Linked DNA regions of Homo sapiens: region 1 is linked to region 2. The links are contacts of gene promoters, found by promoter capture Hi-C in blood cells and fetal thymus (Javierre and others, 2016). All regions are on one chromosome and are shown on one strand. Each heading gives the region's core, a stretch centred on a gene start or on the middle of the fragment in contact. The rest is flanking DNA. Distances are from core to core; before and after follow the strand shown.

Region 1 (5,273 bases), core at 2,217-4,716, 300 kb after region 2:
GTGTTGACTGGCCTCTCTAACATGTCTGTGGTTAACTGTGGGCCAGCAGGCTGCCCCTGCTTCTGGGGATTGATTGACTGTTGGCTGGGTCAGTGGGGATGACTGATTAATATGTCTTCATCCTTCAGGTGAGATTGGGCCTCTTCATATGGTAGTGGCGAGGTCTCAGCATAAGAAGAGATACCTACTCAAAGTGAGAAGGGATAGTTAGTTGGCCACATCGAGTTACAAGGCCATCCATATTGAAGAAAGTGAAGAAAGAGACTCTGCCGCTTGACAGGAAGCAAGGCAAAAGGACATGGATATGGCAGGTTGTGAAAAATTGGGTCACTTTTGAAAACAATCAATTTCACAGGTATTATCTCATTTCCTCAAAAAGACAAAGTCAAAGCTCAGTTTTACAGGTAAAGCAGCTGAGGCACAGAGAAGAAAAGGAGCTTGCTCAAGGAGCTGCTAATAGAGTTGAGATTCAAACCCCGGTGTTTATCACTCTACAGACAACACGTTATTAACCCCTGTGAGTTACTGCCCACTCCACTCACAGACAAAGACCTAAGGAGGTCAGCATCCCAGGAGGCCACTGTCTTTGTCATCATTGCCATCATCATCACCATCATCACATTTATTGAATATCTGTGATGTGCAGATGCTATCAGTGCTTTACATGGATTAATTCATTTATTATAATTCACCCAATGTCCCTATAAGATGTACATTAATGATTTTCCCATGTAACGTGGGTCAGGATTAGAAATTTCATGACGACTTCACTCATTTTGATATTCCCTCTATAGCACAATATCTGGCACATAGGTCATACCCTCTTGCCATATGTTTGCTGAATGAATGAGGGCAGAAGTAGGGGAGTGAACAAGACTCAAGGCAAACAATCATTAGCCCAAAGTCACACAAAGCAGGACTAGATCTCAAGATCCCCCATCTCCTTGCCATGTGGCCCCTGGGCAGCCTTGTTACCTGGATCTGCTGCTGCTCCACTCCCCCAAGGTGGCTGAAAATAGAAAACAAGATTCGGGATGTGCTGTTCGGTCTTCCAGCAGGTGCCCCCAAACCAAACATAGTCCCAGAAACGTAAATCTGAGAATGTTTTGAAACTACCTAGCACAGTGGAGAGAGCACTGGGCTCAGAGTCTGAAGACCCATGTGTGCCACCCTTGGTTGATGTGTGATCCTGGATGGGTCACTTGGAGAAGACCAGACTTTCCTCATCAGAAATCCAGGGCTTCAGATTTTACATCCTGTTTACATTCCAGGACTGTGCGGGAGATAAGAGGAGCTCACAGATGCAAACTCTCCGTGAAGCTTGTACTTGACTCAACTCATGGACCTCTCCGGGTTTGCTCAGCTCCACTGGTTGCACCCCCACCAACACCCCCAGCCTCACTTACTTGCTCAGGGGAGCACAGGCCCCACACCAGCTCATCTCCTAATTGCCACGGGCTCCACCTCCCACGGGGCAACGTCTGCACCTAGGCCTGGCCTCTTACCTTCCGTGGAACCACAGCAACTCTGGTGCCCTGGTCCAACCTGACTGGTCATGCAGAGGCTCTGGCTTGTCTCACTGTTTCTAGACCCAGATGAAGCACTCTGCCCTGAGATGTAGCATGTGGCTTCCCCAGCAGCTGTCTGAAGGGGCCACAACACTTTCAGGGGAGTTAAGGCCCGTAGGGTCAATTTGGACCAGTGAAAGACAGATGATGGAAAATCACCAGGAGATGCCTCTTTCTTCCTCTGCTAGTCTTGGCTCTCTGGAGATGTTACATGGCTGAGTGACCTGGTGTGCTTTGCTCTGAAGCTGTGACATGCTCAATCATGCACCACCCTGTGTTTTCTTTCTCTCCTTCCCTGCTTCACTTCCCGTCTTCCCTCAGTCTTCCCCCAGCTCACACCCTGGAATGACACACAGGTACCTGAGCTTCACTGGAGAATCTGTGGGTTAGGTAACCTAGTCGAAGATAAAGAGAAGAATTTGAGAAAGTTGTCAATTTGCAACCACTCAAAAAATCAGAAGAAGACTGTATCTACTGCTGGCAAGGATATGGAGCAACCGGAATGCTCTCGTACGCTGCTGGTGAGAATGTAAAATGGAACAGCCACTTTGGAAAATGGGCAGTTTCTTAAAACATTAAACATACACCTACCATATGGCCCAATCTTTCCACTTCTAGGTATTTATCCAAGAGAGAAAAAAATACATATGTCTACACAAAGACTTGTACGAGAATGTTTATAGCAGCTTTATTTATAATAGCCTCAAACTGGAAACAACTCAAATGTCCCCCAACTGGTGAATATATAGACAAATGGTGGTATATTCATACAATGGAATTTTACTCAGCAATAAAAATGAATAAACTCTGGATACCCACAACATGCGTGAATCTCTAAATAATTATGCTAAGTGAAAAAGGCCAAAGAAAGTACTGTTTGATTCCATTTACATAAAATTCTAGAAGACGCAAACAAATCTATAAAAACAGAAAGTAGGCCAAGGATTGCCTGGGGACGGGGGTGGAGGAGGGGTGGGTTGTAAACAGGAGGGCACGAGGCGACTTTGGGGGCAATGGAAATGCTTGCCATCTTGATTGTGGTGATGGTCTCAACGGACCACCTTCATAAAGATGTGAAAAGGGGGGAAAATCACCAGGCCTATAAGTGAACCCAACCAAATCTTTAGGGAACGATCACTCCGATGCTATTTAAAGCATTTCAGTGCACAGAGAAAGAAGGAAAACTTCCAAATTCCTTTTGTGAAACTAGCATAATTCTGATACAGAAAACCTGGCAAAAGGGGCCCATTAATGAGTGTGCCGCTCTGCGCACACCTGTGGAGTTATTATTGACTCTGTAAATCAGCTACACTGCAGTTGACCTACTTTCACAATTTTTTTCTGTCTTTAGTTTCCAGAAATTTAATTGCATTGTGTGTTCCTGTGGATCTCTTTGGATGCATTCTGTTTGGGGAAAGCAGCAAGCAGGTTTACCAGATGGGATCAAGAGGGAAGAGGAAGGAGGCCAGCCTTGGAGGCTGATCCCAGTGAGAGGGCTTCTCCTAGAGGGGTGCCAGGGCCAGGAGCCTCCAAGACCTGTGCGTGGGCTCACTGATGCCCCTCTCGCCTCTCTCTGCTTGTCCCTCCCACCCTGACCCACCTGCTGCTCTCCACGCCCATGGCTCCCACCTTTGTTTGTATCTCCACTGTCTCTTGCCTTTTCTTTAAAAATCTGACAGTCTCTGAGCCCCCTCTCCCTGCAATCCATCCTCCATGATGCCAGAAATCCAATTATGTAACAGAGCTAGGATCCAGCCACTCCTCTGCTCGCTTCCTGTTAGGGGCTGTGCTGCGTCTCCTTCTCCACCCCAGAAATTTTTATGTTGAAGTCCTAATCCCCAGTATATCAGAGCATGCCCATATCTGGAGATAGGGCCTCTAAAGAGATAGTCAAGTTAAAATGAGGCTGTTAAGGTGGACCCTCATCCAATCTGACTGGAGGTCTTATAAAAGGAGGAGATTGGACACACAGAGACCCCAGGGCTAGGCATATTCAGAGGAGAGACTGTGAAGACACAGTGAGAAGGTGACCACCTGCAAGCCGAGGAGAGAGGCCCTGGGAGAACCCAAACTTGCCAACACCTTGATCTTAGACTTCCGGCCTCCCGAATTGTTAGAAAATAAATGTCTGTTGCTTAAGCCCCCTAGTCTGTGTATTTTGTCATGGAAGCTCTAGCAAACTAATACTGTCCTCATCTCAGACTCTGCTCTCCTGTGGCCCACAGAACAGGTGCAAACTTAGGACTGCACAGCCCAGCACCGCAGCCTCCTTCCCCGCAATGCTCTAGCAACGCTGAAAGGGCTGCACCAAGTTGTTCATGTCTCTGCGTCTCTGCAATGCCACTCCCTCTGCCTGGGGCAGCCTCCCCTCCTTCTTGTCAACAGGCAGAGGCTCTGCTCTGCAGGTCTGACTTGTACATCCACCACCTGCACTCAGCATAGGACCTGGCACTGGGCAGATGCCCCTGAAGGCTTAGAGGGAGGAAACAGAAATGTCAGAGGGGCTGCATTGGTGGACACAGGCAGGCCGGCTTTGTGGTCGTACCACCTGCGACTTACACAGCTTCCAAGTATCTCTTATTTAGGTCAATGTTTTCTTCTTCTTCTTTTTTTTTTTTTCTTGATGCCCAGTAAAGTTCAACTTTATTGTAAATTTTTTGTTTTTTGAGTCGGGGTCTCACTCTGCTGCCCAGGCTGGAGTGCAGTGGTGTAATCATAGCTCACTGCAGCCTGAACTCCTGGGCTCAAGTGATCCTCCTGCCCAAAGTTTTCTTCTTACTTAACCTTGGTTTCTCATTTTTCTACAATGACCATGAACTTTTCATCGTAATAACAAAAAGAAAAAAAAAAGGAGTAATAAAGATAGGACACGTGATGAAAAAAATCACTTTTCAAACACCCAACACATACTGAAAGTACAAATGACATGGTTTTCTTCCATTTTTCATATTATGTTCCTGTCTGCAATCCATAATCATCTCTCTCCAAGTTCAGGAGATCCTCTGAGGCAGGTCCGGTGCTGCTGCGACTCCCCTGAGTAATATGAGCACAGACTTCCCAAGCTCAGATAGGAATCAAATTGTCCTCGGAAGAGACTTGGAGCGGAAGAAGCTGGTGACCTGGAAACACAAAGAAAACCTCAACAAAAGCCTGCTCTCTCACCAAATGGCCAGGAAAAGGCAGCTTAGCAAGAGAGAAAACTTTTAGGCAACCTGTTCTACTCCAGCTAAACACCACACAAATCATACAAAGCAAATGGTGAGTGGGAGCCTAGACGCCCCCACTTGTGAGGCTGTAACAAGGATCCCAGTAGCCTGGCTGGAGCGGTGTCCAAGAAGGCCAAGTAGAGAGCCGAAGGCCTCACCCTCGCTGGCTGGCAATCAGCTCATCCTTCCCCACCCTCATGGAGTCCACCCACATGGAGACTCTGGATTTTCACTCCCACTCAGCAATAATGTGGAGTCTCTCCCTCTCCCCACTCTCCAGTGTGTCCAAGGAGGTCTTGGGAGGGTCAGGACTTTCAGCAGCACCCAGCAGCAATGAGGCCACCTCCATCAAACTGTCAGTGAGACTGCTGGGGAGCAGGAACTCTCTCCCCCAACTTGGCAGTAATAAGAACCCCCACACCTTGGTGTCAGCGGAGGCTGAGTGGGAAACCTGGACTTCTACTTTCACATGTCAGCCACGAGGAGTGCCACACACATG
Region 2 (5,707 bases), core at 70-2,569:
GGCAGGGCAGGGTCTTGAGTTTGCAGATACAAAAGCACAAGTAGCCCTGCCCCAGATTTAGAACCTGGATTATTCTAAAGGTGCCACTAGCGTTGGGCTGGCAGGAGCCAGTGTGGGGCGGCCCAGGAATTGTGGCTAAATTCCATGCTGGGGTCACTGTTCTGGAGGGAACCCACAAGAAACCTCGGGTCCCTAACTACCGGGCAGCCCTCTCCCACTAGCTGCAGGGCACATGGAAGAAATATGAGGCTCGTGTGTTCCCACGCGGTCAGGAACTCCATGGGAGCCAGGCCTTGTCTGTCTGGTTCTCTGTTGCCAGACGCACTGTGCAGTTGTACAGGTTGTTGACATCCACCATTCAGTGCCCTGTCACCATCACCCCACCCTTCTTGGTGTCTGACCCTCAGTTGGTGCCAGCACACACTGGTGGGATGGAGGGCAGGGGAAATTGGGTGCAGCCTGCCACCCCTTCTCACAGACAGGTAGAGGAGGAGCCTCAGGTGTCCATTAAGATCAGCCTGGTCAGTCCTGAGCCAATGTGGAGGAATCCCAGGAGTGTGCAAGGCTAAGGCCCAGCTGGGTCTGGGACGGGGCAGAGCCTGCCAGGTGTGGCTGGAGCCTGTGACCAACTGGCCCTGCCTATCAAGCCCAGAGGCGGGCAGATCCTCCACCCAGCTCACTTGGTCTTCACAAAAAGCTGGGTGGCCACTCCACGTGGCAGGCTGCCGGGTTCATCTTTCCTAAGTCCCATTTTACCGAGGGAAAACTGATACCTAGGAGAGGTAGTTGGAACATTGGTGGGAGGGCCCTGGAGGGTCTCCAAGCTCAAGGGTTTCTAAGCTGAGACCTACAGAGACGCCCTGGCATTGTTCATGCAGTCAAAGAGTCTGTGCTTCATCTAGCTTATGTCCTGGGGTTCTGTGCAAATTCTCTTGGAATCTGCCGTTTAGAAAAAAAAAAAGTTTGGAAAGCACTGTTCCCTGTCTCCAGATGAAAAAACTGATGCCTAGTGAGGGAAGAGTCGTTTGCCAAAGTCCCAGGGCAAGTTAGAAGCAGGCTCTCTCTCTGCCTGAGAGCCCTGGGGGAAGCCCCAGGCATGCCACCTTCAAAGACCCCCTGTCCAGACCCAGGCTGCAGGGGTGGGGCATGTTGGACCCTGTCCTGGAGCCAGCCTTGACAATAGCCATGTCCCCTTTAAGCAGAGAGCCGCCCGCTGCAGTGGGTGGACTCGGTGCCCAGCCAGTGGGAGCTGTGAGCTTCCCTCCCACAGCCCCTCCCTGGGGAGGGGAGGGAGGGCCAAGCAGCGTGGCTCCCGAGGGAGTTGGTGGGCAGCAGGGGAGACAATAGCGAACATGCTGTGTGGGCTCAGCCGGGAGACCCCTGGAGAGGCGGGTACGTAATGGGGGGTCTGTGGGCAGAGTGATGGGGCTGAACACATAGATCCCTCTGGAGCTGCTGCCCAGAGAGAGGGGACTGGATGGCTGAGACCTGGGACTGCCACTCCCTGGAGACCCAGGGCTTGGGGAGGGTGGGGCAGGACACTTGCTGGGGCTGTCTGTCTGACCCTGGCCACTGTCCTGTAGCAGGATGGCTGAGCCTCCCCCAGGGCTGTCCAGCACAGGCAGGCAGAACAGGCGGGTCTGGAGGTTCCGAGGGCAGTGCTCAGCCTTGTAGGGGGAAGGCTGGTCCTATCTGGGTGTGAGCGAAGCCTTTTGCCCAATCTCAGGATCTGCACAGCTGCCTGGTGGGAGTGAGTGTCCGACCCAGAGGGGTGAGAGCCCAAGGCCCATGGGCAAGGTGGTGGTGAGGAGTTCCTGTGCTGGCACAGCTGGGCAGGAGACTGGTTCTCGGCAGGAGGAGAAACTCTGGTTTGGGGGTCTGACTGGTGAGCCCCTGGGGCTCTGGGAATGTGTGGGATGGGGGATCACAGCTGCCACATTCCTGGGTGTGCTGAGGCTGGGACCCAGGGGAGGGGCAGACACGATTGTTCCATCTGTCTCTCCAGCCTCAGCCTGGGCTCACCCTATTCCTCCAAAGAGGGAGCTTGGGGCCTGGACCAGAACATACTGCATTCACTGCCCTGGGGTTGCCTCACTGGTTTCTTCCCACGCTCTTGACATATCTTTGCACCACAGCTCCAAGGGCAAGGACTGTGGTCCCAGTGGACAGAGGAGGAAACCAAGGCTCAGGGAGGGCAGTGGCCGAGCTGGGATTGACACCCCGATGACTTTTACTGCAGAGCCCCCAGCCCTGCTTCTGAGGGCCCAGTGGACTTTGATTCCCACCTCCCTTCCCATGGCAAGGAGCAGAGCCAGGTCACCTCTGGACCCAGCCTTAGCGACCCAGGAAAAATAACACTCATAATCATAATAGCTGGCTGTTGTCGAGAGCTTCCTCTGGGCCAGGCTCTTTTCTAAGCTTTCTGTGCATTTTCTCATTTAATCCTCATAACTACACTGCCACTTGGGTACTGTTATTCTCTCCATTTTGCAGTTGGGGAAACTGAGGCAGAGAGCTGCTAAGTGACTTGTTCAGGGTTATATAGCCAGAAGTGACAAAGCTGGGATTTGACCCGATGGGCCCACCCATCCTTGGCAACTGCACTGTAAATGGAGGCTCTGCCTTCTTGGCCTGGACACATCTGTTCTTTCAACCCAAGGCCCAGGTGAGTGGGGTCACCTTGGTCTGCTGTGGTCAGGGCCACAAAGGCAGCAGTGCCCTGGAGACCTTACCTGGGGCACTGCCAGGGAGGTGTCTCCCCCTCCTCATGGGCCTGTGACCTCCACCTCGGCCCAGGGTCAGCATCAACTGCCTGGGCCTTTGCCCAGTCTCCTCCCTGGCCTGGCCTCCACCCCTTTGCTGCCATGGGAGGAAGCTTGCCAAAACACAAATCTGCTCAGCTCCTAAGCCTTGCATTCAAGGCCCTTCCTGACCTCTCTGACATTTTCTCTCTCTGATGACTTACTTGACCTCTACCCTCACCACTGTAGCCTCCACCCTAGGTCTCCTCCCCAGGTCACAGAACCTCATGATCACACTTGCTTCAGTTTGCATCAGCACCAAGGCTCTTCTTCCAAAAAGTGTAAAGATGGAGCTTCAGGCACAGTGGGATCCAGATGCTCAATTAACATCATTAGGACTCTGGGTCTCTTCGTAGCTTGCTCTGCTTCACTTTAGTGAGCTTCATTTCCAGGCAGACTCTCTCCTCTCCTTGAGAGTTCCTGGCACCTTCAAACTTAAGGTCAACCAGCTCAGTCATCCCTAAGGAAAGAGAGCCTATTTCCAGTAGTTCCAGCAAATGCCCCAGAAACGGCTCTCATTGGTCCAACTTGTATCACATGCCCACCCCTGATGGATCGCTGAGCCTCTGATTGGCCAGGCCTGGTCATGTGACCTCCCCTGTTGCTGGTAAGGACAGCCATATACCTCCACATTTGGCACAGAAGACTGCAGCCCTGAGAAGTCAGCCCACTGGCAGTGTGCGTCAGTGAGTGCCCCGATTGGAGCTGGGCTCTGTGGACCAGGCAGCCCTATGCCCTTTCTCTGCTCCTGATGGACTCTGGGTGGGTCCCTTCTCAGGCCCCACACCCTGGGCATGTCGTCTCACTCCAGGGAGTCTTGCTTTCCTGTCACTAACCCCAGAGTTCTGGCAGGAAGGGACTGTGACCTATCTCCATTGGCCCAGGCTGGGGCACACAGTAGGCCTGAACACAGATTTTGGCAGGAAGTCCCTCTCCATGTTCACTCTCCTGCCTTGAGGACGGGAGGCCTGCTCTGACTCCGCAGCCACAAAGACATCTTTGTTCCAGGCCTGCTAGGTCTGAGCAGGCACTTGCTGCCATGCTGGGGGCAGGGAAGTCTCAGTGGGTGTGGGTGTACATGTGTGAAGGTCCCCCTGCTGTGCCCTGGGCTACCCACTCCTCCGAGGGGCCCTCACCAGGCCTACCCCTTGGCTCTGAGACTCCTCAGGCAGGCCTGGCCTCCTACTCCACAGCAGGGGCTGTGGCCATGGGGGATCCTTCGCCTGAGTTTGCGTCCTGGCTCTGTCTCTTCCTAGTCTCTGACCTTGAGAAACTCATTCCACCTCTTTGATTCTCATTCTCCTAATCTGTAAATGGGAATTGAATTAAAAAAATATTTGCTGAGCATGTACTACATGCCAGACAATGTGTGCGCTGCACACAGCAGTGAGCAGGCAGACAGAAGCCCGGCCCCCTGGAGCTGACATCCCAGTAAAAATAGTCGTAAATATTTAGATGGTGTTGATTGCCCAGAGGAACATGAAGCAGGGAGGGAGTGGAGAGGAGGTGTGGAGGTACAGGGTGCGTGTGTAAGTTCCAACAGGCGGATGGGGAAGGCCTCCCTGAGGAGGTGACATTTCTACAAGTTCCCGAAGGAGCTGAGACGGGAGTTTTGATGATGTCTGGGGAAGAGTTTTGTGGGCAGAGGGAACAGCCGATGCAAAGGCCCTAGGGGGATGTGAGTCTGGTGGGCCTTGGGTCGAAAGGACAGATGTGTCCAGGAAGGCTTCACCTCCCTTTAGAGTGCAGTTGCCAAGGTGGGGTGGGCCCATAGGGTCAAATCTCCGCTTTGTCACTTCTGGCTGTGTAACCAGGAACAAGTCACTTAGCATCTCCATGCCTCAGTTTTCCCAGCTGTAAAATGGGGAGAATAACAGTGCCCAAGTGGCAGTGTGGTTATGAGGATTAAGTGAGAAAATGCAGTGTGCTGGAGTGGAGCTGGCCAGGGCGAGCATCAGGAGGTGAAGTCAGGGGACCGGGGACTGACAGTTGTGGTGAGGACTTCTGCTTCTACTCTCCCTGAGCTAGACACAGTCTTCTTGTGACTGCAGGCAGCCGCCATTGGGAAACTGAATGGTTCTGTGGGTGACCCTGATTTTGAGGTCACGTTCCTTGACATTGCTGGTTTTAGAGTAGGGCAGGAGAGCAGGACCCAGAACGCAGAAGGCCAACCCCCAACTTGAGACTGCGCCCCCGCTCTCCCATGGTGGGATGTTGGCCTGCGTGTGGCTCAGGCCTGCTGGACAGGAGCCCCTCTCCCTGTGTGGAGGAGGATTGTGGGGGTGGCGGCCTCTCCAGGTGATGCCATGGGTCCTGCTAGCCCTGATGCACCCAGCCTGTGAGTGCCTGAGCCCTAACTTAGGTATTCTTGGGATACTGGAGCTGTCACCTTCCCAGTGCCCTGATGCTTCTCATTTGGGGTCTGTTGCCCTCCTGTTTGGAGGGAAAGAGCAGAGCCAAGGGTTCAGGGCATGGTCTGTTGTGAGGTCAGGGAGCCCTGGGTTCCAGGTGCCTCTGCAGCTCACCAGCTCAGTGGCTTCTCTGGGCCTCAGGCTCCCTATCTGTAAACTGGGGACAATCGGTGAGCCTCCCTCCATGGTTCTTAGGACAATTAACTGACTTAGCATTCATAAAGTGCTTAGAGCAGGCCTGGCCCAGGGAAGGGCCCAACACTGGGTGCTACTTATTAAGGTTCTTTATTTTTTTCTTTGCAATCCTTGGCAACAAATGAATGAGGCTTCAAATTTTTAAATGTATTGATGCATTTCTTTTTGTCTCCCTGAAAAACGTGCTTCTGCCGAGCTTATCTGATCTTTCTATGCTGCTCTCCCCATGGAAGCTGGGCTTCCTGGGAGGCTTGTCGCCCGTGGGGATTGGAACTGTCATTCAGAGGTCAGCCTGTAACT

The links. The method cuts DNA at HindIII sites, captures the fragments that hold promoters and counts their contacts. A CHiCAGO score of 5 or more calls a contact.
Region 1: a fragment that was not itself captured here is called in contact with the fragment with the promoter of GRIP2 in region 2 in 2 of 17 cell types (neutrophils and endothelial precursors); the score reaches 7.6 in neutrophils.

Annotation. Positions count from the first base shown.
Region 1 is chr3:14,242,612-14,247,884 of GRCh38, reverse strand. No RefSeq gene overlaps it. Among named protein-coding and RNA genes, the nearest start is that of LSM3, 66 kb to the right of the region's middle. The HindIII fragment of the contact is 4,287 bases long and covers 1,323-5,273 here.
Region 2 is chr3:14,535,954-14,541,660 of GRCh38, reverse strand. It overlaps GRIP2 (glutamate receptor interacting protein 2), which reads left to right and starts at 1,319. Exons shown (of 24, transcript NM_001080423.4): 1 at 1,319-1,392. The coding sequence starts at 1,353. RefSeq lists an enhancer at 4,547-5,506. The HindIII fragment of the contact is 3,735 bases long and covers 1-2,420 here.